4 separate regions of the Homo sapiens genome follow, and regions 2, 3 and 4 are each linked to region 1. The links are contacts of gene promoters, found by promoter capture Hi-C in blood cells and fetal thymus (Javierre and others, 2016). All regions are on one chromosome and are shown on one strand. The core of a region is centred on a gene start or on the middle of the fragment in contact, and the rest is flanking DNA. Distances in the headings are between cores, read along the strand shown.

What was found. The method cuts DNA at HindIII sites, captures the fragments that hold promoters and counts their contacts. A CHiCAGO score of 5 or more calls a contact.
Region 2: a contact is called between the fragment with the promoter of TMEM256 here and the fragment with the promoter of EIF4A1 in region 1, in 13 of 17 cell types (activated CD4 T cells, naive CD8 T cells, total CD4 T cells and 10 more). The highest score is 12.8, in activated CD4 T cells.
Region 3: the fragment with the promoter of SPEM1 here is called in contact with the fragment with the promoter of EIF4A1 in region 1 in 8 of 17 cell types (naive CD8 T cells, fetal thymus, non-activated CD4 T cells and 5 more); the score reaches 7.5 in naive CD8 T cells.
Region 4: a contact is called between the fragment with the promoter of DNAH2 here and the fragment with the promoter of EIF4A1 in region 1, in 1 of 17 cell types (activated CD4 T cells). The highest score is 6.1, in activated CD4 T cells.

What each region holds. Positions count from the first base shown.
Region 1 is chr17:7,568,787-7,576,574 of GRCh38, forward strand. It overlaps EIF4A1 (eukaryotic translation initiation factor 4A1), which reads left to right and starts at 4,039. Exons shown (of 11, transcript NM_001416.4): 1 at 4,039-4,078; 2 at 5,474-5,522; 3 at 5,760-5,892; 4 at 6,333-6,472; 5 at 7,738-7,788. The coding sequence starts at 4,056. SENP3 (SUMO specific peptidase 3) reads left to right here. Exons shown (of 11, transcript NM_015670.6): 8 at 1,570-1,707; 9 at 1,895-1,978; 10 at 2,097-2,147; 11 at 2,587-3,183. The coding sequence ends at 2,697. It overlaps SENP3-EIF4A1 (SENP3-EIF4A1 readthrough (NMD candidate)), which reads left to right. Exons shown (of 22, transcript NR_037926.1): 8 at 1,570-1,707; 9 at 1,895-1,978; 10 at 2,097-2,147; 11 at 2,587-2,693; 12 at 3,498-4,078; 13 at 5,474-5,522; 14 at 5,760-5,892; 15 at 6,333-6,472; 16 at 7,738-7,788. It overlaps SNORA48 (small nucleolar RNA, H/ACA box 48), which reads left to right and starts at 5,927; the gene lies at 5,927-6,061. RefSeq lists enhancers at 3,377-3,436, 3,467-3,516, 3,537-3,596, 3,717-3,786, 4,293-5,048 and 2 more and silencers at 3,957-4,016, 4,027-4,086, 4,987-5,126. The HindIII fragment of the contact is 10,998 bases long and covers 1-5,733 here.
Region 2 is chr17:7,398,649-7,406,436 of GRCh38, forward strand. TMEM256 (transmembrane protein 256) reads right to left here and starts at 5,449. Exons shown (of 4, transcript NM_152766.5): 1 at 5,352-5,449; 2 at 5,010-5,041; 3 at 4,662-4,742; 4 at 4,327-4,561. The coding sequence starts at 5,436. The coding sequence ends at 4,418. It overlaps TMEM256-PLSCR3 (TMEM256-PLSCR3 readthrough (NMD candidate)), which reads right to left and starts at 5,483. Exons shown (of 10, transcript NR_037719.1): 1 at 5,352-5,483; 2 at 5,010-5,041. It also overlaps a transcript of NLGN2 not described here. RefSeq lists an enhancer at 5,258-5,437 and a silencer at 5,928-6,257. The HindIII fragment of the contact is 6,317 bases long and covers 5,157-7,788 here.
Region 3 is chr17:7,418,482-7,426,269 of GRCh38, forward strand. SPEM1 (spermatid maturation 1) reads left to right here and starts at 1,843. Exons shown (of 3, transcript NM_199339.3): 1 at 1,843-2,047; 2 at 2,146-2,206; 3 at 2,400-3,151. The coding sequence starts at 1,904. The coding sequence ends at 3,124. It overlaps NLGN2 (neuroligin 2), which reads left to right. Exons shown (of 7, transcript NM_020795.4): 7 at 1-1,379. SPEM2 (SPEM family member 2) reads left to right here and starts at 7,135. Exons shown (of 3, transcript NM_175734.5): 1 at 7,135-7,345; 2 at 7,512-7,569; 3 at 7,707-7,788. The coding sequence starts at 7,208. RefSeq lists an enhancer at 1,327-1,846. The HindIII fragment of the contact is 12,172 bases long and covers 35-7,788 here.
Region 4 is chr17:7,713,416-7,721,203 of GRCh38, forward strand. DNAH2 (dynein axonemal heavy chain 2) reads left to right here and starts at 4,329. Exons shown (of 86, transcript NM_020877.5): 1 at 4,329-5,384; 2 at 6,306-6,485. The coding sequence starts at 6,320. The HindIII fragment of the contact is 13,987 bases long and covers 1-7,569 here.

The sequences.
Region 1 (7,788 bases), core at 2,789-5,288:
ATTAATCAAATTCAAGGAGGGGGTCATGGGAACGCTGATCTAACCAGTTGGTGAGAAACACAGATAAAACAACCTGGGGCTTAGGACTGGCATCAGAATTGGGGGCAGCCTTGTGAGACTGAGCCCTAAACCTGTGACACATTATCTCCAGGTAGATAGTGTTGGAATTGAATTGGGGGATACCCAGCTGTGTCCACCGCAAAATTGCTTGCTTGGTTGTTGGTGGAGAGAAAGCCCCACAAACACTTCTTGGTGACCACAGGTTACAGAAGTATTTTGTGTTGTGAGAGTATAGTAGGAAAGAAGATTTGTTTTTTTGCCGGGCGCGGTGGCTCACGCCTGTAATCCCAGCCCTTTGGGAGGCTGAGGCGGGCGGATCACCAGGTCAGGAGATCAAGACCATCCTGGCTAACACAGTGAAACCCTGTCTCTACTAAAAATACAAAAAATTAGCCGGGCGAGGTGGCACGTGTCTGTAGTCCAAGCTACTTGGGAGGCTGAGGCAGGAGAATGGCATGAACCCAGGAGGTGGAGCTTGCAGTGAGGCAAGATCACGCCACTGCACTCCAGTCTGGGCAACAGAGCAAGACTCCGTCTCAAAAAAAAAAAAAAGATTTGTTTTTTCCTCCGCAGGTTGGATGTGGGAAATGAAGAAAAAGAAATGGAGGATGATGCCTAGGTTTTTGGCCTATGTAACGGGAAAAGTGGGAGAGGAACAGGTTGGGGGAGGAAAATGAAGAGTTCTTTTCTCTTCTGGTTTCCCTGCCCTCCCATTCAAAGGCCAGGAAATTTCTACAGCTAGGCAGGATGATTGGCTCCGGCATTCCTTAATTTCAGTCCTCAAAATCAAGAGCTTACACCCTCAGGGATCTTCTTGCAGTAGAGGGAAGGGTGGTGACGTACAGTGAAAAACATGTTGGCCTTCTTCATACTGAGTTTGAGTCCCACTTCTGCCATTTCTTTCTTTCATGACCTTGTGCAAGTCACGACTTTCCAAGCTGCAATTTCCTCATCTGTTAGGTTGAATGTTGAGAACTTCCCGGTAGGATTGTTATGAGCATTAACTGCGTGTTTACTTTGTGCTGTGTCTTGTTCTAAGTGTATTATGGATAGTCACTAGTTTAATCCTCATATCAAATGGATGAGGTGTAGGTACTACTATTTACACTCTCTGACAGATAAGGAAACTGAGGTATAGAAGGTTATTAAGTAGGTTGCCCACTGTCATAAGCCAGTAAATGGAGGAGCTGTATTTGAATTCTGGCAGGCTCCAGAATCCTGGGCCTGGGTTCTTAGCTGCTAAGTGCTTCTCCCTTTAAAGTGTGAAAAGCGCCTGCCCATCATGGGTTCTCCAGTGTTCGTTCTGATGTCTCCTCCATTGTCTGACCTTCCTCCCTTACCCCGAAGAACCGAAACATGCAGATCCTGAGCTTGCCCACAATCTAGGCCTTGGGTCTTCTGTTCTTTCACTTGGTTCCCTTACCTGTGTCTCTGTTCCTCTCTAGAACCTTCATGGCAAAAGGCAAGACTTCTGTTTGTTGTACCTGACCTGTGGCACTATCTCTTTAGGTGGACATCTTCAATAAGGAGCTACTGCTAATCCCCATCCACCTGGAGGTGCATTGGTCCCTCATCTCTGTTGATGTGAGGCGACGCACCATCACCTATTTTGACTCGCAGCGTACCCTAAACCGCCGCTGCCCTAAGGTTTGAGGGGGTAGGAGAGAGATGGGCAAAATGTGGGGCGGTGCAGTGGCAAGGCATTGCAGGAAGAAGGGTGGGCTTTGGGTCTTTGAGGGGCGACCTGGGCATGGTGTCTGCCAGCACTGTACCCACCATACTGTGTTCAATTGAGAAACTTAGGGCATCACTTTCTTTTCCCCCATCCACATAGCATATTGCCAAGTATCTACAGGCAGAGGCGGTAAAGAAAGACCGACTGGATTTCCACCAGGGCTGGAAAGGTTACTTCAAAATGGTGAGTTTCCTGAGGGAGGGGTATAGGGTGTTGGTGGGGACAGTGGTAGAAGGCAGAAATTGAAGTCCTACCCCTGGGAGTCTCCATGTGAAGGGCCTGCTTTCTTTCTCTTCTCTAGAATGTGGCCAGGCAGAATAATGACAGTGACTGTGGTGCTTTTGTGTTGCAGGTAAGCAGATGATGGGGCCACCTCCCCTAGCTCTGAAGTCAGTTGGGTTAAAGGGTCGGGAGGCTGTTATGCATCCCCTCATTTGGCTCATAGTCAGTTGTGGAGCAGGAAGTAATCTGTTTTAGAACACCAAAACACTGGCTTCACTGGTTCTCTTCTGGACTTCTCCATCCCACATTGGGACTGGGTCTCTAGTCTTGGGCCTCTGGCCTTCATAGAGCTCCCTGCTAACCTCCAACTCAGTGTATTTTCTCCATCTAAAACATTCTATCAAGTAAGAACACTAGCTTTAGAGTCAGGCTGTTTTTGAACCCCAGGCTGTGGGACCCTGGCTCCCTTTGGGGATGTTCTCTGAAGGATGGAGACACATCTCATATGAAATGTGTAGCACAGGTCCTGACACGGGGGGTTTCTCATGGCTTGCTTTGTTAACACCCAGTACTGCAAGCATCTGGCCCTGTCTCAGCCATTCAGCTTCACCCAGCAGGACATGCCCAAACTTCGTCGGCAGATCTACAAGGAGCTGTGTCACTGCAAACTCACTGTGTGAGCCTCGTACCCCAGACCCCAAGCCCATAAATGGGAAGGGAGACATGGGAGTCCCTTCCCAAGAAACTCCAGTTCCTTTCCTCTCTTGCCTCTTCCCACTCACTTCCCTTTGGTTTTTCATATTTAAATGTTTCAATTTCTGTATTTTTTTTTCTTTGAGAGAATACTTGTTGATTTCTGATGTGCAGGGGGTGGCTACAGAAAAGCCCCTTTCTTCCTCTGTTTGCAGGGGAGTGTGGCCCTGTGGCCTGGGTGGAGCAGTCATCCTCCCCCTTCCCCGTGCAGGGAGCAGGAAATCAGTGCTGGGGGTGGTGGGCGGACAATAGGATCACTGCCTGCCAGATCTTCAAACTTTTATATATATATATATATATATATATATATATATATATATATATATATATATATATATATATATATATATATAAAAATATATAAATGCCACGGTCCTGCTCTGGTCAATAAAGGATCCTTTGTTGATACGTAAGTGGTGGTCTTCCTTAAGGGGCTTCAAATTAGTGGATATGCTTAGCTCAGACCTTCCAGCCAGTCTCTTGAGACTAAAGGGTTCAGCTTTCCATCCCTGGCTCAGGCACTGCCAACACCTTGTCTTCACCCAAACAAATCCCCGAGATGGGAGCAGAGAGCAGGAAGGAGGGAAAGTAGATAAGCCTCAAGAATAAGGGCATCCGAGAGGGAAGCTGGGGAACTGGACACAAGGGACTGGGGAGGGGACCAACCAGGATTCATGATAGTACCCCAAAGCCCTTTACAGTTTTCTTCCATCCCTCCACCATCCAGCCAGGGGAATCCTCCCATCCCTACGATATCGCTGTTGATTCCTTCATCCCTGGCACACGTCCAGGCAGTGTCGAATCCATCTCTGCTACAGGGGAAAACAAATAACATTTGAGTCCAGTGGAGACCGGGAGCAGAAGTAAAGGGAAGTGATAACCCCCAGAGCCCGGAAGCCTCTGGAGGCTGAGACCTCGCCCCCCTTGCGTGATAGGGCCTACGGAGCCACATGACCAAGGCACTGTCGCCTCCGCACGTGTGAGAGTGCAGGGCCCCAAGATGGCTGCCAGGCCTCGAGGCCTGACTCTTCTATGTCACTTCCGTACCGGCGAGAAAGGCGGGCCCTCCAGCCAATGAGGCTGCGGGGCGGGCCTTCACCTTGATAGGCACTCGAGTTATCCAATGGTGCCTGCGGGCCGGAGCGACTAGGAACTAACGTCATGCCGAGTTGCTGAGCGCCGGCAGGCGGGGCCGGGGCGGCCAAACCAATGCGATGGCCGGGGCGGAGTCGGGCGCTCTATAAGTTGTCGATAGGCGGGCACTCCGCCCTAGTTTCTAAGGATCATGTCTGCGAGCCAGGATTCCCGGTAAGAAAGGCATTTGCAAGAGATTGTGGCTGCTTATTTTGCCGCCCCCTTCCGACGGGCCCGCCGGGGGTAGCTGAGAGGCCCACCAGGGTTGCGGGAGAAACCGAACCGGGTGGGGGGAGGGTCCGACTTGGAGGGGCGAGGGGGAAGACCCACGGCCGACGCGGCCACCAGGTCGAGGCGGAGGGTAGGGACAGCCCGGCTAGGGTCAGGCGTGCGAGGTCTGTTACGAGGCCTCGACCCGAGGCGGTGCCATGCGCGAAGCCCCGGCGCTGAGTGGCGAGACGGGGTCGCGACCTGGCGTGGGAAAGAAAGGTGGAGGCGGCCGCCACTATGTGTGGCCCAGAGCCGGCAGGTCCGGTTGCCTCCCTGTGCCGGGGGAGGGACGGCGCGCGGGGTTCCGGAGCATTCTGACGGTACCACTCGCGAGAGGCGGGGGTGCCTGGTCCTTAGATCCAGTCACTTCGTCGCGGCTAAAACACGGGTCGGGGAGAAGAAACCGGCCGTTCAGTGTGCTGGTTTTCTTGACGGCCAGGACTGAGCCTAACCCCGAGGAGCGGCCGCGTGAGGCACCAGGAGCCCACCCGGCGCCGGGCGGGCGGGTCCATTTTGCCGCACAAGCCGGGCTATTGGCAAACTGCGGATGGGCAGGTCCACCTTCCTTCGGGGGTGAGCGGCCTGAGGTATGGGAGGGCGACGCTACTTCGCGACGGGGGCGGGCGGGATGTGGATTGTTCATGGAGGGGTGGGAGACGCCGCCGGGTGGTCGAGGGAGCGAGCACATGGTGGCCTGAGGCGTTCCCCTCCCCCAGTCTGCTTCGCTTCTAAGTGTTGTGCAATCTCCCCCTTTGCTAGCTCGGCTTGGGCTCATTGTGCGCGAGGCCGCCACCGCCCGCGGCCTCCCACATCCGGGCAACGCGAGGGGGGGGCTTCGGCTGGAGGGAGTGGGGGAGGGCGCGGGCGGGATGACGTGGGGGGAAGGGGATGTCCTACCCTCCGATCTGGGAGGTGAAGGGCGGGACTTCCAGCGCGCTGGTGCTGCGGTGGGAGGTGCACGCGCTTGGGCTTTAAGCGGCTGGGTCGGGCCCACGTGGACCCGGCGGCAAGCACCACCTCTGGGCACCGTGAGCGCGGCGGCACGCCTGCCGGCCTGTCTTCAGAAAGGGTCACCCCCTTATGTCGGGGGTGGCCTGGCCTGAGCCGCTGCCTGCATGGGGCAAATGCCTCAGTTTTATAGAAACTCCTCCTTTGGGTATTTTTTGGGAGCTGGTGGGAGTTGGATCTGGGACAGCAGATTGATGGCATCATGCAGGCCACTCCTGACAGAGCCCGGCTGTCAGGATTTCTGAGTGCTTCGGTCGGGCAGGGGACAAAACTTATGCTTTAAACCAACAGATCCAGAGACAATGGCCCCGATGGGATGGAGCCCGAAGGCGTCATCGAGGTGAGACTGGAGAAATGGAATTCTGTCCTCCCCCATTACAACTTTCAGCCGTATAGAGTTAGAGTGGCCTCTTGATTGATTTCCCAGATCATCTAGAAGCAGCTGGTTTCCCTAAAGGGAGGAGGGTTGTAAGCTCTGAGGCTTTTGTTAGTAGGCACCAGATTCTGTTTGCTCGGAGACTACAGCTCAGCTCCACCTTTTCCATGACTCAAGCTTTAATTTCTTTGCATCCCCTAGAGTAACTGGAATGAGATTGTTGACAGCTTTGATGACATGAACCTCTCGGAGTCCCTTCTCCGTGGCATCTACGCGTATGGTTTTGAGAAGCCCTCTGCCATCCAGCAGCGAGCCATTCTACCTTGTATCAAGGGTGAGACCTCTCAGTCCCAGAAGACATTGTGGACTGTCCCTGACCTGGGTAGAGTGGCATCTGGTTGGTGATGCCCATCTCATATCAGCCAGGGACAAAGCAACTCCTTGTTCATCCCAGCTTGGCTTTTGATCCGTGCCCATGCCTGGTTCATGCCTTGGACACATAGGTTTCCTTTAAAGAGGTGGTATTGTAGCCAGCTTATATTTGCATCTACAGCCATGTTTCTAGTCCAGCTTGGTGTGCAATACTAGATGAGTTAATAACTGGTCCTTGTTTCTGATCTGGTTCCCATTGTGTAACTGTGTTGATTGGGAAGGTAGTTTGTGAGCCATGAAATGCTTGGTTCATTGGTTGCTTATTGACCTCATTAACCTAGGACTTGAATATCCCAAAGGGTATGCTCTTTACCACATTCAACTCCTAATTTATTTGTTTAGGTTATGATGTGATTGCTCAAGCCCAATCTGGGACTGGGAAAACGGCCACATTTGCCATATCGATTCTGCAGCAGATTGAATTAGATCTAAAAGCCACCCAGGCCTTGGTCCTAGCACCCACTCGAGAATTGGCTCAGCAGGTAAGAGTGGCTTCTATTCCCTCCTTCAGGGCTGATTTAGGGATGATGAGTATAATCCAAGGACCAGAGAAGTCTTCTCTGATCACCACCTTGGGAGGAAGACATGGGTGCCCTAACACTCTCGAGACCTGCTGGGTTAATTAAAAGCTATTTCTTACCCAAACGTAACCATTGCTTCCTCCACCCATTTCCTGAGTCAAATGGGAAAGCTGTTGGGTGAAGCCTGGCTGGCTGGGCAAGTTTGACTGTGTTCTGAATAAGCACCTTCACTATGGGCTAAGAGATCCCTTGGTGTGGGGGTGATCTTACAGTAGTCAGAGCAGATGGACAGTCCTTTTCACCCTTGCTTAATAGCCAGAGCTGTTTCATGCCTGGGGCACACACAATTCTAATGCTGGACTTTTTCCTGGGTCATGCTGCAACACTGATGTCAGAGCATGTTTTTAAATGTTCTGTGGCAGGGGCAGTGATTATTCTGGGTGTGGATAATGTAAGAAGTTACAGCAGAGCTCCATTCTAAGGCACTTGGCTCTCAGTTTTCTCAGAGTGAACATGCCTCGTAGCTTGGGTCCTATGGCAGGAGTGCAATAGGACATGGATATGCATCACCTGTTCTATAAAACTGGTTGCTGGCTGGGTGTGGTGGCTCAACTCGTATAATCCCAACACTTTGGGAGGCCAAGGCAGGCAGATCTCTTGAGATCAGGAGTTGGAGACCAGCCTGGCCAACATAGTGAAACCCCGCTTCTACTAAAAATACAAAAATTAGCCAGGCATGGTGGCGTGTGCCTTTTATCCCAGCTACTCGGGAAGCTCAGGCAGGAGAATTTAACCCAGGAGGTGGAGGTTGCAGTGAGCTGAGATTGTGCCATTGCACTCCAGCCTGGGCAACGAGCAAAGCTCTGTCTCAAAAAAAGAAAAAAAAAATGGTTGCTGCGTGATGAGGCAGTTGGTCAAATTAGTTTTCAGAAGGTTAAGGGTTCTAAATATCTAGAGTAAAGAAACTGAATTAATTATCTGAGCGGCCTCATTGTGAATCACTGTACACTCAGGAACCAGACTGAGTTGAAATCCTGTCTTTGCCACCTATTGACAGCACGATCTTAAGTGGATTTTAGCCTCTGCCTGTTTCTCAGCTGAATGTGAGTTTAATAATAGTGCATGCCCCAAAGTTGTTGGTTAGGAATCAATACATGAAAAACATTTAAGAATGGTGCCGGGCACAGTGGTAACTGACATATGAGCACCTGCCTCTCTCTGCTCAGATACAGAAGGTGGTCATGGCACTAGGAGACTACATGGGCGCCTCCTGTCAC
Region 2 (7,788 bases), core at 4,199-6,698, 170 kb before region 1:
GGATGGCCAGTGCAGGCCTTGGAGACAGTGGTATGGCACTTGGAATCTATTTGCAGTGCAGTAGTAAGTAAGTCATTGAAAAGTTTAAGTCACTCTTTTTTTTTTTTTTGAGATGGGGTCTTGCTGTGTTGCCCAGGCTGGAGTATAGTGGCTATTCACAGGCTTGATCTTAGCACACTAGTCTCAAACTCCTAACCTCAAGCAATCCTTCTGCCTCAGCCTCCTGAGTAGGTGAGACTATAGGCACACACCACCGCACCCAGCTATCATCATTTTTAATTTCTATTTTTGTGTATGCTTTATATAGTACAATCTGTATAATATATTGAAGGCATACTTAATTTTTCTGAAGGTATGCATTTTTTTCTTTTTTGAGACAGGTCTTGCTCTGTTGCCCAGGCTGGAGAGCAGTGACACGATCTTGGCTCACTGCAACCTCCGCCTCCTGGGTTCAAGCGATCCTCGTGCCTCAGACACCCAAGTAGTTGGGATTACAAGCACCATGCACCACCACGCCAGCTAATTTGTGTATTTTTAGTAGAGACGGCATTTCACCATGTTGGCCAGGCTCGTCTCGAACTCCTGGACTCATGTTATCCACCTGCCTCAGCCTCCCAGGATTACAGGTGCTGGGACTACAGGCGTGAGCTGCTGCGACTGGCCTGAAGGTATGCTTTTTTTTTTTTTTTTTTTTTTTTTTTTTGAGACAGAGTCTTACTCTGTCGCCTGGGCTGGAGTGGTGCAATGACATGATCTTGGCTCACTGCAACCTCCGCCTCCTGGGTTCAAGCGATTCTCCTGCCTCAGCCTCCCGAGTAGCTGGGATTACAGGCACCCACCACTACGCCCAGCTAATTTTTTAAATTTTTAGTAGAGACAGGGTTTCACCATGTTGCCCAGCCTGGTCTCAAACTCCTGACCTCTTGATTTGCATGCCTCAGCCTCCCAAAGTGCTGGGATTACAGGTGTGAGCCACTGTGCCCTGCCGGTATGCATTTTTAAAAGTGTGCAGATTTTTTCTCTAATGAGAAGATTTTAGGTAATTTCATCTCATTCCGTATCTCTAGTTACAATCTGCATGCTTTTAATTGCAGAATTTCTATCACCAACACTAGTCTCTACTGAGCTCCCGACTCCTGTAACAGCAGCTTTCCAGGCTTCCCTGAAGCAAGAGAGTGTGTTAGAGACCTGAAGGAATTCCTAGGGGCTGGCCTGAGGATTGTGAGAAGGATGACAGGGCCAAATGGTGGAGGGCCTTGTGCGGAGATGTTGTACTGTCTTCTGAGGGCAAAGGGGAGCCAATGAAGCATGTATATCCAGGGAGATGGCATAATTTGAGGTACACTCGTAGATCACAATATTTCTTCATTTTAAAGATGAGTCAGAGGCCAGGCACAGTGGCTCATGTCTGTAATCCCAGCACTTTGGGAGGCCGAGGCGGGCGGATCACCTGAGGTCGCGAGTTTGAGATTAGCCTGACCAGCATGAAGAAACCCTGTCTCTACTAAAAATACAAAATTTGCCGGGCATGGTGGCGCATGCCTGTAATTCCAGCTACTTGGGAGGCTGATTCAGGAAAATTGCTCGAACCCAGGAGGCGGACATTGTAGTGAGCCGAGATCGCACCATTGCACTCCAGCCTGGGCAACCAGCGAAACTCTGACTCAAAAAAAAAAAAAAAAAAAAAAAAGATGAGTCAGGAACCAGACATGTGTTCCTCCAAACTCAGCCTCCCGAGTAGCTGGGCCTGCAGGCTACAGGCACAAGCCACTACACCTGGCTATTTTTTTTTTTTTTTTTTTTTGAGACGGAGTCTGGCTCTGTCGCCCAGGCTGGAGTGCAGTGGCGCCATCGCGGCTCACTGCAAGCTCCGCCTCCCGGGTTCACGCCATTCTCCTGCCTCAGCCTCCCGAGTAGCTGGGACCACAGGTTCCCACCACCATGCCCGGCTAATTTTTTTGTATTTTTAGTAGAGACAGGGGTTTCACTGTGTTAGCCAGGATGGTCTCGATCTCCTGACCTCGTGATCCACCCGCCTCAGCCTCCCAAAGTGCTGGGATTACAGGCATGAGCCACCGCACCTGGCCATGGCTATTTATTTTTATTTTTATTTTTATTTATTCATTTATTTATTTTTTGAGACGGAGTCTCGCTCTGTCGCCCAGGCTGGAGTGCAGTGGCACTATCTCGGCTCACTGCAAGCTCCGCCTCCTGGGTTCATGCCATTCTCCTGCCTCAGCCTCATGCCATTCTCCTGCCTCAGCCTCCCGAGTAGCTGGGACTACAGGCGCCCGGCACCACGCCCAGCTAATTTTTTTTTGTATTTTCAGGAGAGACGGGGTTTCACCGTGTTAGCCAGGATAGTGTCGATCTCCTGACCTTGTGATCCGCCCACCTCGGCCTCCCAAAGTGCTAGGATTACAGGCGTGAGCCACCACGCCTCGCTATTTTTTTATTTTTGTAAAGACAGGGGTCTCCCTGTGTTATCCAGGCTGGTCTCGAACTCCTGGGCTCGAGCAATGTTCCCACGTCCGCCTTCCAAAATGTTGGGATCACAGGCTTGAGCCATCGCACAGGGTCCTCTCTGTTCCTTTCCTTTCAGCATGCAGCACAATTTGTAATGATACATGTTTTGCAAATTTTATAAATGTTTAGTTATTTCAGGTCCATTTCCACTACTAGATGGGAAACTCCTTGAGGGAGGGGATATCTGTCTCCCTCAGGGTTGATCTTCCTTGTAACGTGTCTGACGCATGATCAACACTGGTTTAATAAATACTGTGCCTGCCAGGAGCAGTGGCTCACACCTGTAATGCCAGCACTTTGGAAGGCTGAGGCAGGTGGATCACTTGAGGTCGGGAGTTTGAGACCAGCCTGGCCAACATGGCAAAACCCCGTCTCTACTAAAAATACAAAAATTAGCCGGGCGCGGTTGCGGGCGCCTGTAATCCCAGCTACTCGGGAGGCTGAGGCAGGAGAATCACTTGAACCCGGGAGGCGGAGGTTGCAGTGAGCTGAGATCGTGCCACTGCACTCCTGCCTGGGTAACAGGGCAAGACTGCGTCACAATAAATAAATACTGTCCCCACTAAATATCTTCCAGTTCTCTACATGCTGTGACTGCCACTCCAGCCTGTCCTGCCACCTTTTCTCACTCCTTTCCTACCTAACTCAAACTCAGCCCACATTGAAGACTCCTGCTTCTCCAAACCCCTCCCCTCTCCATCTTGTTCTTTGTTCATTGTTTCTTCCATACAATAGAGCTCCTTTAAGGATCATCTCAAGCATTGTGACACATTTTCTGATCCCCAATACATGATCTGTCCCTGCTTTGAACCCCAAAGTATTTTGTAACTAATGACACTCCTATCCTGCCTTGCCTTAATCCTCACTTCTAGAGTAAGTGGGTGCTGATAACAACAGGGCTGAAAACCATGACCCTATAGTAATTTTTTAAAATCCCAGTACTTTGGGAGGCTGAGGCGGGTGAATTGCTTGAGGTCAGGAGTTCAAGACCAGCTTCGCCAATATGGTGAAACCCCATCTCTACTAAAAATACAAAAATTAGCCAGGCATGGTGGCATGCACCTATAATCTCAGCTACTTGGGAGGCTGAGGCAGGAGAATCACTTGAACTCAGGAGGTGGAGGTTGCAGTGAACCAAAATCGCACCACTGCACTCCAGCCTGGGCAACAGAGTGAAACTCTGTCTCAAAAAAATAAAAATAAAAATAAAAACAGGCCGGGCGTGGTGGCTCATACCTGTAATCACAGCACTTTGGGAGGCCAAGGCAGGCGGATCACCTGAGGTCGGGAGTTCAAAACCAGCCTTGCCAACATGGCACAACCCCGTGTCTACTAAAAATACAAAAAATTAGTTGGGCATGGTGGCAGGCGCCTGTAATCCCAGCTATTCAGGAGGCCGAGGCAGGAGAATCGCTTGAACCTGGGAGGCAGAGGTTGCAGTGAGCCGAGGTCGCGCCACTGTATTCCAGCCTGGGCGACAGAGCAAGACTCCATCTCAAAATAATAATAATAATAATAATAAAATTAAAAACCTAGTATGCATCAGAACCACAAGATGAGCTTATTAAAATACAGATTCTCAGGCCCGAAAGAGTGCTTCAGTAGGAATCTGTGTTATTTCAAGCATTCTTTATGACTTTGATGCCCACCAGGGTAAGAACATTATAATAAGTTAACTTAAAGTGACCAGAATCCCCAGACCTAAGGCTCACTGATTAAGTCTTAGGAAATGGAGGGAGTTCAGAGGTTGAATCCCCACCCTTCGTCCTCCAAGAGGTTAGATGAACAAAGACTCCAAAGTTTATTTGCCTTTCCTTTTTAATCCTCTTCTTACTCCAACTCTTTAAAAAAAAAACTGCCCAGAAAACCCAGTAATTAAGCAAAAGGGAGCTCAAAGAGCCAAGGCAAGCCAGCCCAAGAGTAGCAGGGTCCCTCCCGCAGGGGCCAAAGTCTGGATGCTGGGGTCTCCACTCAGAGCCTGGTAGTAAAAGCTGGTGCAGAATAAGGTCGTTCCGGAAGCTAGCAATAACCCAGCCTGAAGGAGACACAGCACAGAAAACAGGATTGTTAAGAACAGGGCAGGCTGAGAGGGAGTGTGTGGGGCTTGGTCAGGGTTAGGCGCAGGGAAAGATTACCCAGAGTGGCTTTCTGCAATGGGGCACCCCTAACAGGGCCAGGCTGTGTAAGAAGTGGTGTTTGTTGGCCTTGTCAAACAGCTGTAAGAAAAACAGAAACGAAGGGATGTCGTAGGCAATACAGGTACTGAGATCCCCTGATGACACAAGGGACCAAAGTTCCTTCCCCCACCCCACCCTTGAAGTCCCAGCTTGATCCCAGGCCTTTGGCTTACAGAGCCTTTGGCCTTTGCTGCTCCAGAGATCCGCGGCTCGCCCCACCCTCTCCCCGCCCACTTCCCCCAGGGACCCCAGACTTTGTGCCTTCGTAGACCCACGAGTCAGGGAGCCCCAGCGCAGTTACTTCACCTCCTTCCCGTAGGCATCTGGGAATTGGGCGCCTGTGGAGAAAAGAAGCAAAGGTTAGCGGTCCTAGTGCCAGCCCTGACCGCCCCCAATCCGGGGGGACCCAGGTGGACATTGGCGAGAAAGGGCACCCCCCCCCCCGCCCCAGGAAGCTTCCGATTGGTGGGAACACGCTCGGGCAGTACTGGGAACCAATTGGACCCAGCTGGGGGACTTTAAAAGGTTTAGGGCTCCGCGGACTGTCTGATAAACGAGAGGCCGGGCACCTCCCATAGGTTACGCCCTTGCAGCAGACCCCAGAGGACGCCCCAAGTACAGTCCCATCTTCGTCCCCAGCCCCCTGACCGTGCGCCCCGTAGGAAGCGAAGCCTAAGGCCGCAGCTCCGGACAAGGCGCCCAAGCGGCGGAAAGCTGCAGCTGGCCCGGCCATAGCTGTAGAACAGGACGCACCGGACCAACGCCGCCCAGGCCACCCAAGAGGCCAGCCAATCCCGACCGCCCATGCAAATAAGGTTCACAGGCGCCCAATCCGGGCCGTGTTCATTTCAGCATTGCGCTCTTCACCCGCCTTTGTAAAACCGCTGCAGAGTGGCGAAGACGTCTGGCGGGCGGAGAAACCAGCACCAATTAGGAACAGAGGAGCTAAGCAGTGGGGGGGCGGGGTTGAGGGCGGGACTAGGGGGATTTGCGTCAAGGATTGGCCCACTTTCCAAGTTGATCGCCTCTTCGAACCCCCCACCCCCATGCTCCGGCCAATTTCCAAAGATCCCGGTCTTCTCTCAAAGTTCCGCCCCTTTTTCCACAGGCTCCTCCTGTTCAGCTTCAAATCAAACCCACTACCAAAAAGAGGCGGCCCGAAAGATAGCAAAGCCCCACCTATTGCCAGTAAACCCCGCCCACTGCACAAATGGCCCCTCCCCCATGTCTGAAGGCTCCGCCTTCTTTGTATGATGCCCCGCCCCCTGTAGTTAAGATATTCTCCCCCCCGCCAGCCCTCCGAGACCGCGAGAGCCCCGAGGGTGGGAGATCCGGGGGAATGTCTCCACCCTGCCCTGGCCCGCTACGTCCATCTGTCCGTCTGTCCGCTCCCGCCTCTTCCCACCATCTCCAATCCCCCCATTCTCCGGAGGGCGGGCGGGCAGGCGGGTGCGAGCGGGGGGTGCGAGCGGGGGGTGTGCGCCGCTCTCTCGGCAGGGGGCGGGGGAGGCGGCCGCGCGGTGACGCGCGGGGCTGCTGCGGCTGCTCCGCCGGCGGATCATCACTCTCGGGCTGGGATGGACGCGGGGCGGGCCGGCCCTGGCGCGCGGAGCCAGGAGTCCGGGCCTCCCGGCTGCTGAGCGTCCCTCGAAGCCTCCCCTCACCCCCGCCTTCCCTCCTAGGATCCGCGCTGACCCCCGCCCCGGGGCTCTGGACTCGGCTCCCGCCCTCCTCTGACTCCCCGGACCTCCCCCTCACGCCCGCCCTCGGGATCGACTAGATCCCTCCCCCTCCCCGAGGATTCCGGCTGGATCCCTGCCCCTGCACCGCGGATCCTGCGCTCCCGGGCCCCGGGCCCCTGGGGATTAACGTGGACTCCTCCTCCAGCACCCGATCCTTAGGATCCTCCGCCTGGACCGCCTTCTGGTCCCTCGAAGCCGGCCCACGGAACCAGCGGATCCTCAATCTAGTCCTGTCCCGTTGCCCCCTCCTTTCTCTATCGTCCCTACTGCGGGGTTCCCTGTTCTCGGGCTCCCCCTGATCCCATCCCCTAGCTCTCCTTTTCCCGGGGATCGACTGGATCCCGGCCCCGCCCCCCGGGGCTGGGGCGATCCCCCTCCCCCGCCGGGTGAGGCGCTGCGGGCGGGGGCTGGGCCTGCGGGGCCGCGGGGGCTCAGAGGCCGCCGCCCCCTCCCGAAGGCCTTTCGCCCCCCACTCGGAGCCCTGGATGGAGGCACCACGGCCCCAGGGCTGAGCCAGGTAGGACCTAAGCCGGGTCGGTGGAGGGGGCTGCGTGGCGGTCCACTGGGGTCTCCCTCTCCCCATCTCCCTCCCTGCGCCTGGTTTCCCCCAGCCTGCTCTGTCTGCGTGTCTCCGCCTAGGGATGCTCTCGCCGTGTCTCTGCGTCTTGGTCTCTTTGTCTCTGCCTCTCTCCAGTCCATGAATGATCCTTTGAATGGGCCCACAGACCCCGTGTGTTCCCATCTCCCCCTCCCCCTCCTTCTCCCCTTCCCAGCCAAGCCATTTTCACCACTGCAGGAAGGGGGGGCCTGCGGCCTGAGCCCCCGTCCCTCAACTCTCCCCGGCTGGGGGAGTCAGGCCTGGGCAGGAATGGAGAGAGAAGGCAGAGGGATAGGGAGAAGGAGGAGGGAGCAAGATGTGGCAGACAGAGATGAGGAGAGAAAATGGGGGAGACAGTGATGGGGAAAGACAGGAGAGAGAGACAGAAGGCTTAAGGGGGAAATTTGGGGAAGGCATTTGGAGAGAGAGAAAGAAATGAGAAACACCAAGGAGAGAGATACAGAAGAGAAAGATGTAAAAAGACCGAGGGTGAGAGACTGAAGGCAAGAGCTGGGGCAAGCTGGAAGAGGCCCACAAAAGATGCTCCCAGGGAGCACTACGGAGAGGAGAGAGATGGGGGGGCCTCCAGTGGGAGGGAAGGAGGGAGCGGAGCTGGTGGGAGGAGGCCAGGGGCCCAGAGTACCCTCAAGAGGAGAGGGTGACTGAGGCAGATCTTGTTGTGGGGAGGGGGAGGGGGCAGCAAGGCCATGGTAGCTGAGCCCAGTCTGGCACAGGAAAAGGAGAT
Region 3 (7,788 bases), core at 593-3,092, 150 kb before region 1:
AGGGAGGAGTCCACGCATCCTGATGCTGCCTGGAAGCTTATTTTCCCGTGGCCAGGACGCATTTCTCTGAGTGGAAACAGGTTCTTGCATGTGGATGTGTGTTTCCCCAGGCAGACGGCCCCTCTCTTCCCAGCACTTCCCTGCCTCCCCCAGGCCTCAGGCCCAGCACCCAGTTCCTCCTCACATGGCAGGTGAGCACAGACTTCTAGTTGGCAGGAGCTGAGGAGGGTGAACAAACCCCGAGGGAGGCCCGGCCCTTGCTCCCGAGTTGGGGGGAGGGGGTGTGGCAACGTGCCCCCCGCAGAGGCCACGCATGTTTGACCAAAGCCCTCATTGTGGTCCGAGGACAGCCTTTTCCCCAGGCCTCAGAGCATTGCTCATCCGTGCCAAACTGGGTAGGTGGATTTGAGCGGAAAGACTCCCAAAATGTGCCAAGAATTTCCCAGTCCCAGGCAGGGCAGGGGAAACTAAGGGCAAGCAGGATACAGGGCGAGGGATGTGGCAGGTGAGGGGGCTCCCGCCTGTGCCCCTTCTCCTCACCATGTCTCCCCCACCCTGCCTCAGTTCTCCGTTCCCCTTCATCTCCGTCCCCCTCTTTGAAGCTGTCCCCATCTCAGTGTCAGACCAGCCTTCTCCTCAGCTGACCACCCTCCTCTGACCCACGCCCCCTCCTTGTCTGAAAGAAAGGAGCCTTGAATGGTGGAGGGAGGCAGTGGGGAGAAAGGTCTCACCGGACAGGTTGGGAGAATGAGGTCAGCGGTGCTGGGGAACAGATGGAGGGGGCAGTGGGGACAGGGCTTGGGCAGACACCAGCAGGAATAATTTGAAATGTGTGAGGTGACTCCCCGGAGGGCCTTGGGCTTGGGCATTTGGGAAAAGAATGATGTCTGGAAGGGCTTAAGGGACACAGTGGACGAGGGGAGAGTCCTCATCTGCTGGCATTTTGTGGGGTGTTAGTGCCAAACTTGAATAGGGGCTGGGGTGCTGTCTTCCACTGACACCCAAATCCAGAATCCCTGGTCTTGAGTCCCCAGAACTTTGCCTCTTGACTGTCCCTTCTCTTCCTACCTCCATCCATGGAAAATTAGTTATTTTCTGATCCTTTCCCCTGCCTGGTCTAGCTCCTCTCCAAACAGCCATGCCCTCCAAATGCTAGAGACCTGGGCCCTGAACCCTGTAGACAGATGCCCTCAGAATTGGGGCATGGGAGGGGGGCTGGGGGACCCCATGATTCAGCCACGGACTCCAATGCCCAGCTCCTCTCCCCAAAACAATCCCGACAATCCCTTATCCCTACCCCAACCCTTTGCGGCTCTGTACACATTTTTAAACCTGGCAAAAGATGAAGAGAATATTGTAAATATAAAAGTTTAACTGTTGGTTGTGCCTGCTCTGTTGTGGGGAGGGCGGTCTCTAAAGAAACAAGCCCTGGGGAAGTGACGAGGGAGGAGGGGTCTTTTCAGTGACCAGCTCTGAGGTCTGAGAGGAAGGGGGAGTGTGTGCTGGGGTCTGGTTGCCATGGTAATGGGTCTGTTTGGCAAATGAATGTCAGGACCCGTGTCTATGCCGAGACTGGAGCCTGGTGTCGTTCTATAATGGAAGGACAAAGGCTGATGGGGGCAGATGTCAAACAGGCCAGAGGCCCAGTGGGCTGGTGTAGGCAGCTAGCTCAGCAGAGGTATGTGAGGTGAGAGGCATGGCCTCTGCCAAGGCCTGGACTCAGGCGAGAGGGTCAGCCACGGGTCCAGGACTCAGGGTAGCCCCTTGGCACACTGGAAGGGAGTGGCCTGGCACCATTGTGACCCGTTCACTCCCAAGACCCTCAGGGACAGGCAGGCAGTCAGTGGACACTGTCGGCACGGTGGGCTGGGGGCGTAAGGGCCCCGGTGGTCCTAGGGACCCCATGGCCATGGTTGAGCGGCCGAGGCCCGAGTGGGCCTCGTATCACAACTGCAACAGCAACAGCTGCCAGGACCTGGGCAACTCTGTCCTGTTGCTGCTGGGCCTCATCATCTGCATTAACATTAGCATCAATATAGTGACCCTGGTCAGGGTGGGGCCAGATGGGAGGGAGCTGGTGGGATAGTGGGGGGCAGGCCTGCCGGCCAGGGCCTACCTGGGATCACTGTGTCTTCCCCCACCTAGCTCTGGAGCCGATTCCGTGGTGTCTTATACCAAGTGTTCCATGATACCATTTGTGAGAAAGGTAAGAGGTCTGGGGGCTGGGACATAGGAGGGGCAGAAACCAAGTGCTCTAGCCTCAGCCCTAAATTAGCCCCTTCCCTTCTTGCTCGCCCCTCTCAGACAACATAGCTGTGTGGCTGCCCTTCCTGGGCCCTGCCTCTCCATGCCTGTAGGAGCTGGCCTCCCCACTAGTCTCACCTCTCCCCCATCCACAGAAGCTCCCAAGTCATCATTACTCAGAAAGCAGACCCAGCCCCCTAAGAAGCAGAGTTCTCCTGCAGTCCATCTTCGGTGCACCATGGACCCTGTGATGATGACTGTGTCCCCGCCCCCAGCTCACCGCCATCGCCGTCGAGGCTCTCCCACACGCTGTGCTCACTGCCCAGTAGCTTGGGCTCCTGACACTGATGACGAGAAGCCTCATCAGTACCCAGCCATCTGCTCCTACCACTGGGATGTCCCTGAGGACTGGGAAGGCTTCCAACACACTCAGGGGACCTGGGTTCCCTGGTCTCAGGATGCCCCAGAGTCCCCTCCCCAGACCATCCGCTTCCAGCCTACCGTAGAGGAAAGGCCCCTCAAAACAGGCATATGGTCCGAGCTGGGCCTAAGGGCCTATGTGTATCCTGTGAACCCCCCACCTCCCAGCCCTGAGGCTCCTAGCCACAAGAACGGTGGGGAGGGGGCGGTGCCAGAGGCAGAGGCGGCTCAGTACCAGCCTGTCCCAGCTCCCACCCTGGGCCCAGCAGTCATCCCTGAATTTTCCCGGCACCGCTCCTCAGGCCGAATAGTGTATGATGCCCGGGACATGAGACGGCGGCTTCGGGAACTGACCCGGGAGGTGGAGGCCCTGTCCGGCTGCTACCCCCTAGCCTCTGGATCCAGCACTGCCGAGGAGACAAGCAAGAATTGGGTGTACCGTTCCCTAACTGGGAGGTGACTGGAAAAAAATAAAAAGGAGAGAGGAGGTGATCTGTGGTGGTGCTGGGGTGCCAGGGCCCACACAGCACCTAGAAGCTGTGGCTGTGAAGAGAATGCTCTCCCTAGCCACAGGGCCCTGAGCCCTGAGGACCCTCATTAACCTTTTGCCCCACAGGCCTGTCCCTGTCCTCAGCCTTTCCTAGGCCCTTCTGGGTTCCAAGGCTCTTACCTGCCTCTACCTTGTTTTCAATTTTTTTTTTTTTTTGAGACAGGGTCTTCTCTGTTGCCCGGGCTGGAGTGCAGTGGTGCAATCACAGTTCACTGCAGTCCCAACTGTCTCCCACCTCAGCCTCCTGAGTCACTAGGACTACAGGCATGGGCCACTAGTTTGTTGTTGTTGTTGTTGTTTGTTCGGTTGGTTGGTTTTTGTGTGGGGGGGGTTGTTTTTGTTTTTAAGACAGAGTCCTATTCTTGTCACCCACACTGGACTGCAATGGCACAATCTTGGCTCACTGCAACCTCTGCCTCCCAGGTTCAACCAATTCTCCTGCCTTCAGCCTCCTGAGTAGCTGGGACTACAGGCGTGTGCCACCATGCCCTGCTAATTTTTGTATTTTTAGTGCAGATGGGGTTTTGCCATGTCGGCCAGGCTGGTCTTGAACTCCTGACCTCAGGTGATCCGCCCGCCTCAGCCTCCCAAAGTGCTGGGATAACAGGTGTGAGCCACCCCACCCCAGCCGCACCACTATTTTTTGTAGAGATTGGGTTTCACTACTTTGCCTAGGCTGGTCTCAAACTCCTGGGCTCAATCGATCTGCCTGCCTCAACCTCTGAAAGTTCTGGGATTACAGGTGTGAGCCACTGTGCCCGGACTGTTTCCTCCCCCTCCCCTGAGGCAGGGTCTTGATCTGTCACTCAGGCTGGAGGGCAGTGGTGCAATCATGGCTCACTGGAGACTCAACCTCCTGAGCTCAAGCAGTCTTCCTGCCTCAGCCTCCTGAGTAGCTGGGACAACAGGCACCACCACGCCCAGTTAATTCCTTGTTTTCTTTAGTGCACAGAGAAGCCCCTAAATTCTACCCCAGGTCCCCAGGCAGTCGTGCACTAGAGGAGAGATCTCCATCTCCATGGCCCTAGCTCCTCAGAAGGCTGGTGCCTGCCAGAGCCCAGCGTTAGGCTGCAGCCACCGGTGAGGCCTGGTTCCCACGTAAGCCCTGATTTATTTGGGGAGGGATGGCTGAGAGGGCGTCTAGTCCTTCACAGTTCCCCAGTCACCCTGAAGGTCCTATACCCTTAAGCAGGATTGGAGCAGAGGAGGAAATATTGGGGCCCCCTTGGCTGGGCGCAGTGGCTAACGCCTGTAATCCCAGCACTTTGGGAAGCCGAGGCGGGCGGATCACGAGGTCAGGAGGTCGAGACCTCTTGGCTAACACAGTGACACCCCGTCTCTACTAAAAAATGAAAAATAAAAAATAAAAAAATTAGCTGGGCATGATGGTGGGCGCCTGTAGTCCCAGCTACTTGGGAGGCTGAGGCAGGAGAATGGTGTGAACGTGGGAGGCAGAGGTTGCAGTTAGCCAAGATGGCGCCCCTGCACCCCAGCCTGGGCGACAGAGCGAGACTCCATCAAAAAAAAAAAAAAAGGCCGGGCGTGGTGGCTCACATCTGTAATCCCAGCATTTTGGGAGGCCGAGGCGGGCAGATCACAAGGTCAGGAGATTGAGACCATCCTGGCTAACATGGTGAAACCCCATCTCTACTAAAAATATGAAAACAAAAAATTAGCCGGGCGTGGTGGTGGGCGCCTATAGTCCCAGCTACTTGGGAGGCTGAGGCAGGAGAATGGTGTGAACCCAGGAGGCGGAGCTTGCAGTGAGCCGAGATTGCACCACTACACTCCAGCCTGGGCAACAGAGCGAGACTCCATCTCAAAAAAAAAAAAAAAGAAGAGAAATATTGGGGCCCCCCTCAAGAGGTACCTCACTGTAACATCACAGCTCTCTGTGACCTCACTCCTTTGATTAACTCACCATGTCACCAGTGAGGAGACTAAGTTCAGAGAAGCTAAGGGTCTTGCTCATGGTTACACAGACACTGAGGATCAAGCTCATGGCCTCAGATGCTCCATCCCATTGCTGCAGAGCCAGCCTGACCCACCAGAACCTCCCACCTTCCCCAGTTCACCATGTGAACTCAGAAACTGAGAAACAGAGAAACTCAGGCCCTGCCTTTCTGCTACACAATTGGGATCATATGCACATGCACACACATACCACTTGAGAACAAGCAGCTGTGTGCGTGAGCCCAGGCTGAGGGAGCTGGACTTCACCTTCCACTCTAGACAGATTCCTGGAATGTGAGCAGACGGACCGTTTACAAATGGCCCTACTTCTCTCATTCAACTAACGTTACTGATCATTTTCAATGGATTCCATTCAGTGGAATCTGAATCTACTCTGCATCTACTCTGTGTTTGGAGGCTGGATGGGATATGATCACTGGCCTTTCTTTCTGCTGAGTGGTTCACTGTGTAAACAAATGGCTTGCAGTCTCCAGGGCACCACAGACCCCAGTGATGCACCTGTTTTAAGTCAAACACTCTTTTTGGTATATTAACAATTACATGTATTTTGTGCTTTGTTAATTTCATGTGGTTTTCTTGTTGTTGTTGTTGTTGTTGTTGGGTTGTTTGTTTGTTTTGAGACAGTCTCACTCTGTCACCCAGGCCGGACTTCTGTGGCGCGATCTTGGCTCGCTGCAACCTCCACCTCTCAGGTTCAAGCAATTCTCCTGCCTCAGCCTCCCAAGTAGCTGGGATTACAGGCGCCCACCAACATGCCCAGCTAATTTTTGTGTTTTTAGTAGAGGTTTCGCCATGTTGGCCAGGCTGGTCTCAAACTCCTGACCTCAGGTGGTCCACCTGCCTGGGATTATAGGCGTGAGCCACTGCGCCCAGCAAGTTTCCTTCCTTCCTTCCTTCCTTCCTTCCTTCCTTCCTTCCTTCCTTCCTTCCTTCCTTCCTTCCTTTCTTGTTTTTTTGGAGACAGATTCTCGATGTGTCACCCAAGCTGGAGTACAATGGCGAGAGCTCAGCTTGCTGCAACCTCCACCTCCTGGGTTCAAATGATTCTTCTGCCTCAGCCTCCCGAGTAGCTGGGACTACAGGCGCGCATCACCACACCCAGCTAATTTTTGTATTTTTAATACAGACGGGGTTTCACTATGTTGGCCAGGTTGGAACTCCTGACCTCAGGTGATCCAGCCACCTCAGCCTCCCAAAGTGCTGGGATTATAGGCATGAGCCACCGCGCCCAGCTCGGGTTTTCTTCAGGTAGTAGCTTAACCGTTTTTCACCTTGGAGTAAGGGTGGGTTGGTGGGAGTGTAGGTGGTTAGGTTGGAGAAACCATGGCTGGGGTTGGTTCCCAGCAGAGGCAGCCACCTCAGTGAGTCAGATGTCAGTGTGACGAAGTGGCTGGTGGGCTCAAGGACCACCAACACCTAGGGCTGGAGTCTGGCCAGGAAGAATTGGGCAGAGATGGGAGCTAGAGGACTTTTGACAGGGAAATGGGCAGAGTAGGGAGGGGCTGGTACAGCAGGGTGATGCCTGAGGGGACGCAGTGTCACCCGCCCATCTAGTCACCCTAGATGCTGGCCCCAAAGTAACCATGGGGCAAGGCACGCCAACAGGCTATGTAAGTTGCCATAATGTCTCAAAAGAACAATGAAACAGGACATATCTGATGCATGCTTCAACCCTGTGACGACCGTGTCAGCCTCTAACTACCCTATCTTCAGCTCAGGAACCAGCTGTGGGGTTAAGCAAACCTCGTGGAGATAGAGGAACAGACTGAGATCTGGGATATGTGGGGACCAGGCTCCACCAAGTAGGAGCCAAGGGTGGAGATGGCGGTAGAAGGGGCCAGCAGAATGGATAAAAGCTGCCACCTCCACATTGTGACTCTCGCTAGCTCACCTCATTGTGACCTGGCTCCCTTACCAGCTTGTAGTTATCTCCGGGGATTGGCATGAGTGCAGTGTGGGTTGGGGCCGGGGGTGGGGGGCAGAGGGGGGTGGCCCAGGTGGCCCTAGGACCCCCCCTCCATGGAAAACCAGCTATGGCATAACACCGTGAGATGTTGCAATCAATACCAAGAAAGCCCCCACGATGCCGAGGACATCTTACTCCTGCTGCTGGGCCTCATCGTTCTTGTCAACATTGGCATCAACGTGGCAACTATGGTCAGTGATGATTGTGGACTACCTCTGGGGGTGAACAGGGCCAAGGGTGGGAGCCAGCTGCAGCCTACATCTCCACCTGCAGGTGCGGTCTAGATTGGGGCGGGGGCAGGGGTGGTGGTGCTGGGCGCGGAGGGCCTGGCCTTCACTCTCTTCCACCCTGCCCCAGATGTGGCATGGACTCCAGAACGCCTTAGACAAGATGATTGATTGGGCTACTCAGAAAAGTAAGTGTGGCTGCTGGAGAGGTAGGGGACCCCCATCCCCACCCCTGACAATGGCCCTAGAAACCCAGGCCCCAGTGTTCCCAACCTTGAGCTCTTCTGACAATTGCCCTGACTTCATGGACTCTTGCCTTCCCCAGATGAAATTCAGGCCAGTGAAAGTCCCCCAAGTGGTCCCCCAGACAAGGCTCAGGATGTCCACATCCACTGCATCCTGGACCC
Region 4 (7,788 bases), core at 3,079-5,578, 140 kb after region 1:
GCTGGTCTCGAACTCCTGACCTTAGGTGCTCAGCCCACCTTGGCCTCCCAAAGTGCTGGGATGACAGGCATGAGCCACCGCACCCGGCCTGGAGCTGCTTTAGATGAGGAGGTCAGGAAGGTCCCTTTGAAAGAGATGCCCTTGATCAGGACCTTAAGTCATGAGACAGGAGTAAGCCATGCACACTGGGGACGGGCATGCTAGACAGAGGAACAGCAAGTGCACGGGCACAGAGGTGAGATTGTGGTGTGTTTGGGAACAGTAAGAAGGACATCACCACCACATGCATGTTTCGGATGTGTCCTGTTCTTCCCTAGCCTCGGCCTGGAGGGGAGTAAGTCACTTAGGGTCTTGGATCCACATTAAGGAAGTTGATCTCACTCAGTCTCCCATCCCCTTGCCTTTTGTTTCTTGTGTGTCTGTGACTTGTGTTTTCCTCGTCTAAATTTTAAGCTCTGGGAGGGCAAGGATGATGCTCTGAGCTTTTTTGGGGGCTGTGGCACAGCTGCTGGCAGAGTCCAGAGCAGGAAGGCAGAGCGGAAGTAAAGGAACCGAGAGGGCTGGGACCACAGAAGCTAGAGCTGTCGCCCTGCCATCCCCAAACCGCATAGGATTGAGGCTGTCTTGGGGCTGAGCTGTAGAGTGAAGCTCAGGCTTTGCCCTCCTTCCAAATAACGGCAGCTGAGGGATACTATTCAGCCCGAGGTGCGTGTGTGTGTGCGTGTGTGTGTGTGTGTGTGTGTGTGTGTGTTGGGGGTTTTTAGGGAAAGGGGAATGGGGCAAGGAGTGGCAGTGGGAATTTCTTTTCTTTTTCTTTTCTTTTTTTTTTTTTTTGAGACAGTCTCGCTCTGTGGCCCAGGCTGGAGTGCAGTGGTGCAATTCTCGTGCCTCAGCCTCCCGAGTAGCTGGGACTACAGGCATGTGCCACCACGCCCGGCTAATTTTTTGTATTTTTAGTAGAGATGGGGTTTCACCACATTGGCCAGGCTGGTCTTGAACTCCCGACCTCAGGTGATCCACCCACCTCAGCTTCCCAAAGTGCTGGAATTACAGATGTGAGCCACTGTGCCTGGCCTTGCAGTGGGAATTTCTGATGCGGAATGGTTGACATCATATCTGGAATTTTAATTAGAATGAAAAATGGCCCTTCCTAAGGGGCTATATGGGCCACCGTGGACATGGGGCTTGGGAGAGTTTTGAGACCTGGGAGAAATGTCACACGGTGGTTTGGAGGCAGGAGGCTGTCTGGCATAGGCTCAGAGTTGGGTGGGGGAAGGAAAAGGGACACAGAATGAATGGGAATGACAACTGGGCAGCCAGAGAGCTACTTGAAAGGTAGCAGGGAAAGTGGAGTTCTGAAGGGAGTTCTGAGGGGACCAGGCCCCAGGTACCCCAATTCCCACAGGGAATCGAAGTGTTCAGTTTTCTGGTTCTCCCTCTTCCTCCAGTTGCCATCAGAAACTCAGGCACCGCAACCCCAGTGGCTGGCGGGGTGATGTCGGGGGGAGACTGAGCTGCTTCAGGGGGTAGCAGCTGGTGAGTTGGGAGGAATCTGTGTGCTCAGCAAACAGCAGCCTCAGTGCCCGGTGGCTGCCTCCTCCCTCATCAATCAGCCCCAGCCAAATGTCCTTGCATTCCCACCACCCCAAGGGGACTGGGGCTGGGCCAGGGTCCCCAGGGGAGATGGGGATGGGTGGGGGGAGGTGAAGGGGGGTGCTTGGCTTCCTTTCCCTTGGCCTCTGTTCTCTTCTGTCCTGGAAGCTCTCAGTTCTTCATGTCATGGAATGACTATCCTGGCCCCTACCATCGTGGGGGCATCAGCTACAAATCACCTGTGGGGGGCTGCTGGGGGAGAAGGATGAGTCAGGCTGTAGAGTAATCTACTCTGGTTCTCACGGGACCAGCCCAGGGCACAGCCGGCAGGGAGGCTGCTGGCATAGAGGCCCTGTCTCCCCTGGCCTCTGTCTCTGATGAATGATCCGGACAGCAGGCCGAGACCCTGACCCCTGGAATGGACCTCTCTTTCCACCTTCTCCTAGCCCCCAGTCCTCATCCCCTGCTTCCAGCCAAGATCCAGAGGTCTGGCCCCCAGCTCACCCCAAATCTGCTGTTCCCCACTAGGGACTGGGGTCTCTAGACCTTAGCCTCTGGCTCCCTTTCCCCCTCCTCAGCCTTTGCTCCCCTCCGGGACCCAGGCGTCCTGCCCACTCCCTTCACCATAACAACCATTCTTTTGGAGTTGCTTAAGACTTTAATATCATTTCATTAAGTCAGCAAGTTCAGAGAAGGTTGGGGGCACAAAGAGACTGGGGGTGGGCAAAAGAGGGCCAAAGTAGGGGGGAGGCAAGGAAAGATCCCCCACCCCCCTCTCCGTGGAGATGGCTCTGAGAAATCAAATATTGACAATGAGGGAACAGAACTTATTAAATCTGGGACAGGGATGTGTGTGGGGAGCTGTGGGAATGGCCGGATGCCTGGGTTCGGAGGGTAATGAAGGTTCTGGGAGGAGGAAAAGGGCCGTGGCTGGGAGGTGCAGCAAGGCTGAGGCTCGAGGTCACAACTCTTCTGCCCTTTCCTTTGGGATGTACACGGTCTTGCAACCCTGGCTGTTTCTCTAGCCCCGAAGAGCCCCTGGGGAAAAGACCCCCATCATAGCTAGCTGTGGTTGCCCCGCCTTCGTCCCTTCCCCCTACCTCCACCTCTGTTGATGAGCTTCAGCAGCGTTTAATCGGATTGAGCAGTAATTAGCAAAGCGAGATGTTTGATTACCTATTTAGCATAATGTGGGGGGCTGGGATCCGTAGGCACAGCCACAGTTGGGGAGGGGGGTTTAAGAAAAGAAATGGGGTCTGTGCAAAGTTCCTTTCCCCGAGGGACCCATGAACCTTGCCCCTGAGGCTCCCCACCCCACGCCTCCAGCAAATTTTCACTCCTTTGGGACTTTTCCCTAGGGGTTCTGGCCAACCACATCACCTCTGTCTGCCACCCATGGCCTATCTGGCTAGAGGAACACCTCCACGTTCCATCTTAGCTGTGCTAGCTGTGCAGCTGGTTTTGGGGTGGGCGGTACTCCTCTCCTTCCATTCCTGCTGTCAGCAACAGGAGTCTGGCTGGGCAGGAGGAATTATTGGGGGTCGGGGGGAGGGAAAGGGTTGACACTTCTGGGAATAAAGATACGGTAGGTGGGAGGGTGAGGTCAGCGCTGGGATAGGGTGTGGTTAATCCACTTGCTCTTCAGGAGTACCAGGGACTGCCACTCCTGGTAGTGCCAGGCTGGCATAATGAGATCTGTTAGGTGTGAACGCCAAACAGAAAATGGGGGAACTGAGGTGCCAGCTTCTCTTCTCCTCATCCAGCAAAGAAAATGTCATAAATTTCGCTCCTCATGGAAATGTAATCAGTGGGCTCGCTGCTGGCTTTGTCTTAATTAGGCACTATTGATGGAAACAGGGAGGGCGCCTTCCCATCCCCCCACTCGGCTTCCTCCCTGTATTTCCCAGGTCTCCCCAAAGCTCCTCCCGGCACCAGGTACAGCGGTCTTCCAGGCGCCTTCTAGCAGCCCCGGCCCGCAGCGCCCCCTGGCACCCTCGGAGATGTACCCCGGCCCTCATAGCCCTCCCCTCTCGCCTCCTCTCTCACGACGCAGCCTTTGTTCCTATGGAGAGCGAAGCCCCTCCCAGGCCCGGTCACCTTCCCCAGGGAGTCCCCGCCTCTCATCCCCCCCAAAAACCAGCGATGCCTTCGAAAGCCAATCCTCAGATTCCCAAAACTCCAGTTCCCGTCTTCCCTCCCTTTCCCCGCCCCGCGCCGCCCCCCCGCAATCCTAGACCCCAATCCGAACTAAGAAGGGGGAAGGAGCAGGAGGGCAAGGGTGCTCCAGGCCCGGTTTTTCCCCCGGATCCAGCTGCACCCACGGCTGCCTGGAAATCCTGGAACGCCTTCTACATCGCGAATATCCCTCGCCGGCCTGGCGCCCGGCGCCATCTGCTGGACCCGTTCCGGCTGGGGCGCACAGACCTGGGCGCGGGGTCGGGCGATTGGGTTCTCCCTGCCTTTTCAATGTCCTGCGGGGCGGTGGCTCACTGTCTCTCGCCCCAGCCCTTCCAGCTGGGTCCTGACACCAGGCCCCCCGCACCCTTCGGCTCGCCAGATGTGGCTACTTTCCTTTAGTCCCGGAGCCTTCAAGCCCTGGGTCCCTGAGGGGTAGACCTGGGCGGGGTGGGGCCGCGAAGCAGGGATCCAGGGCGCCTGCGCGGAGGAGGCGGGCTCCGAGGGGCCGCACACCGGCCACTCGCCCCTCCCTGCCCGGGGTTGCCATGGGGACGCGTGCAGACGCCGGCCCGAGAGGGCTGCGAGGGGCAACTTCTTAGAGTGGCCCATCGGTCGGTCTAGGGAGGGGAGGGTCAGCGTGGCAAGGTGTGTGTCGGGGGCAGAGGGAAGGAGGGAAGGAGTGCTGGGGAGAAGGGGCAGTAGTGTCGGGGTAGGAAGGGACAGTTGTTGGGGAGAAGAGGCAGTTGTGGAGGGAGAGGGAGCAAGGAATATTTGTGTGGGGGAGGGGGAGGAGAAGGGGCAGTTGTGACAGCTGGGGGGGAAGAGCCATTCTGAGGGGAAATTTGCCTGCTGGTAACCAGTTTAAGGATACCAGCTGCTGGTATAAATACTGCTGGATAAATACTGCTGGATTTATACTGCAGGATAAATACTGCTGGCCCCTGCGGTATTTCCTAGTACTAGAGTGAGCCCCGACTTAGCAGAGCAGTTCCTCCTGGGGCCTGCGGTGTGGGATCGCGTGGTGAACCCCACGGTGCATGCGCCTCAGGCTCTAGTTTGAGGCAGGAAAGCGCAGCTTGATGCTTCTCTGGAGACTGATGGAGGAAGCCTCCTTGCTGTAGTTGGTTTTATTGATTTGCTGGCCTAACAGAACGTTTTTCCTTGGAGCAAAGTACAAATCCTTCAAGTTTGAAATTCATAACCTGAGATCAATGCCTGTGGCAGCCTGTGGGGATGAGGAAGGAGAGCCACAGGTGCCGTTAGGCTGCAGCCTAATGAAAAGAGAGTGCCCAGCGCCTCAGACTTTGCGCCTGGGATTCTGAGCACCTGTCCGAGATCCCCGCTTCCTGCCATCCTACCTTTCTGAGAGAGGCACCACTGTGACCTTCCTCGTGCCCCAATTGCTTTTTCCTCATGACACAATTTGAAATTTATGATTGGATGACTTTTGTCCTTCTTTCTTCCAATCTGTTCTCAGGGCATTTTGAGTCAAATAAATGATCCTGACTGATCTTAACCATTAGCACAGAGTTCCTCAGCCAACTCTGCTAAGAGACCTCAGTACACACAAAACAGTGTTCCTGCCCCTCAGGACTTCAAAGCGATAGACCCAGGTGGCAAATACTGTTTTTCTCTGTTTACAGATGTTGCAGATTTTAGTGGGATTGGGAGGAGCATATTTCCATTTAACTTGGGAGGAAAAGAGGTACATAGGAAAATCATCTTGGTTTGCTTGAATGATTGAACAGTGACAAAGGATGGGGGATGTGCACCCCTTCCTTGATCCTCTCTCACTCACTCATGGTCCTGGAGGGTAGAGTGGATGAGGGTTTGGGCAACCACACTTCAGCTTGATAGATCTTTTCCTGATTATCTTATGTTCTCATACCCCGGGGCAGAGATAGAGGTTCTAAATCCTCATTAGTGGGGTGTCTGGCCATCTTTTTTTTTTTTTTTTTTGAGATAGAGTCTCACTCTGTCAGCCAGGCTGGAGTATAGTAGCATGATCTTGGCTCACTGCAGCCTCTACCTCTCGGGTTCAAGAGATTCTCCTGCCTCAGCCTCCCGAGTAGCTGGAATTACAGGCACGCACCACCACTCCTGGCTAATTTTTTGTATTTTTAGTAGAGACGGGGTTTTGCCATGTTGGCCAGGCTGGTCTCGAACTCCTGACCTCAGGTGATCCACCCGGCTCGGCCTCCCAAAATGCTGGGATTACAAGCATGAGCCACCGCACCCAGCCTGGCCATCATCTTTAACTCCCATTTGTTCCTAGTGCCTTGAGGGACTGACTTTGATTTTTAGCCCAGTGCCCCGAAGACAGTAGGATATCCTAGGGAAAAACAGCAAGGCCTCCCAGGCCCCTGTGGAGTACAGAGCCCTTGTGGTTAATGGAGCAGGGTGTGGGTACCACCAGAAAAGATGATCATATTGAGTTTCAGTCAATTTATGAATTCAAAAGGGACTGCTTGTATCAGGGGGCTGGTTCAGGGGTGGTATCTGCTTGTAGACTCTCCACTCCTGTATACCTGTAGGTTTTGCCTGCACGATGTCCAGCAAAGCTGAGAAGAAGCAGCGATTGAGTGGCCGAGGAAGCTCCCAGGCAAGCTGGTCAGGGCGGGCCACTCGGGCTGCTGTGGCCACACAGGAGCAGGGGAATGCCCCGGCTGTCAGTGAGCCAGAGCTGCAGGCTGAGCTCCCCAAGGAGGAGCCTGGTGGGTACTTGCTGGGGCAGAGGATGCTTAGCAATGGAGGGTGGGGAAAGTCAGAGGGGCTTGGAGGCATTTTAGGGCTGGGGAGCAGGCGCTGTTGCTTCTGGGCAGGAAACGGGCTAAGTGACGCCCCCAGCCATGGAGGTTCAGCAGCCCTGCCACTGAGTCCTTTTTTTGTATGTCTTCCTCCTGGCCAGCCTCATCCTTGTTCTTTCTGTCTTAAAATTTCCCACAATATACCAGGAGTTCACCAACCAGTCCTTTCTCTAGCCTCTTCCTCCTTATTTCAAGTGTTCCTGGTTGCTCCTACCCCACTGAAGAGGGTTTGATCTCTTCCTTTTTCCCATTTTCACCCTGGGTGGCAAAACAAATAATGTTTTTCTCCCATTAAGCCCATCACCATGGAGACTCAGCCTGTTTTGCCACCCTTTGAATCCAAAGCCCGGCTGATGCTTTCTACCATCTGTTGAGGGCTGTTCTATCTCCGCCCTCATTTTGGCAGGGACTTGGTAGACTGCGGAGGTTCAGGTTCAGGATGACAGGAAAGAAGTCTAGATCTAGGGAGGAAAGAGTTTAACGAGGCAGCCTCTTGTGGCTTTGACCTGAGGGATTCCTTTCCTGTGGGTGAGCCGGAGCCAGTAAGGTTGGAAGGTTTTTGGTAGTTGTTGCTATTGCTGGGATCTCCCTGAGAGCACTGGTCAGTGTAGACAGGACTATGAGCTAAGTGTAGACCTCCTTCTTTACCTGGAGCTCCTTTACACTGATAGTAGCTTGTGAAATAGAATCCCCTTCTAAAATTAAAGGTTGAGAGGTTAAGCGTGGGCATGGGAGAAAAGTCCCTGGGCCATAAGAACTTGCATTAGGTTCCAGGATCTTAGAAATGTGCAGAATGTATCCTTCTGAGTTCTGAAGTGCTCAGGTGAAAGCAGTTAAAATGGGATTGCTCGCTGCTAGGAGGAGTAGGGGAAGATGGGAGGGAAGACAGTGAGGTTCAGTATGGAGAATCCTCTGGGGAGGTAAGGGAAGGAGCTTTAAAATGAATGTGTTGGCCTTCGAACAGCAAGGATTTCTGCCTCTCCCAGCTCCAAGCTTTCTTTTCTTTCTTTCTTTTTTTTTTTTTTTTTTTTTTGAGACAAATTCTCACTCTGTCTCCCAGCCTGGAGTGCATTGGCATAATCTCAGCTCACTGCAACCTCTGCCTCCCGGGCTCAAGTGATTCTTGTGCCTCAGCCTCCCAAGTAGCTGGGATTACAGGCATACACCACCATGCCCAGCTTATTTTTTTTATTTTTTTGAGACAGAGTCT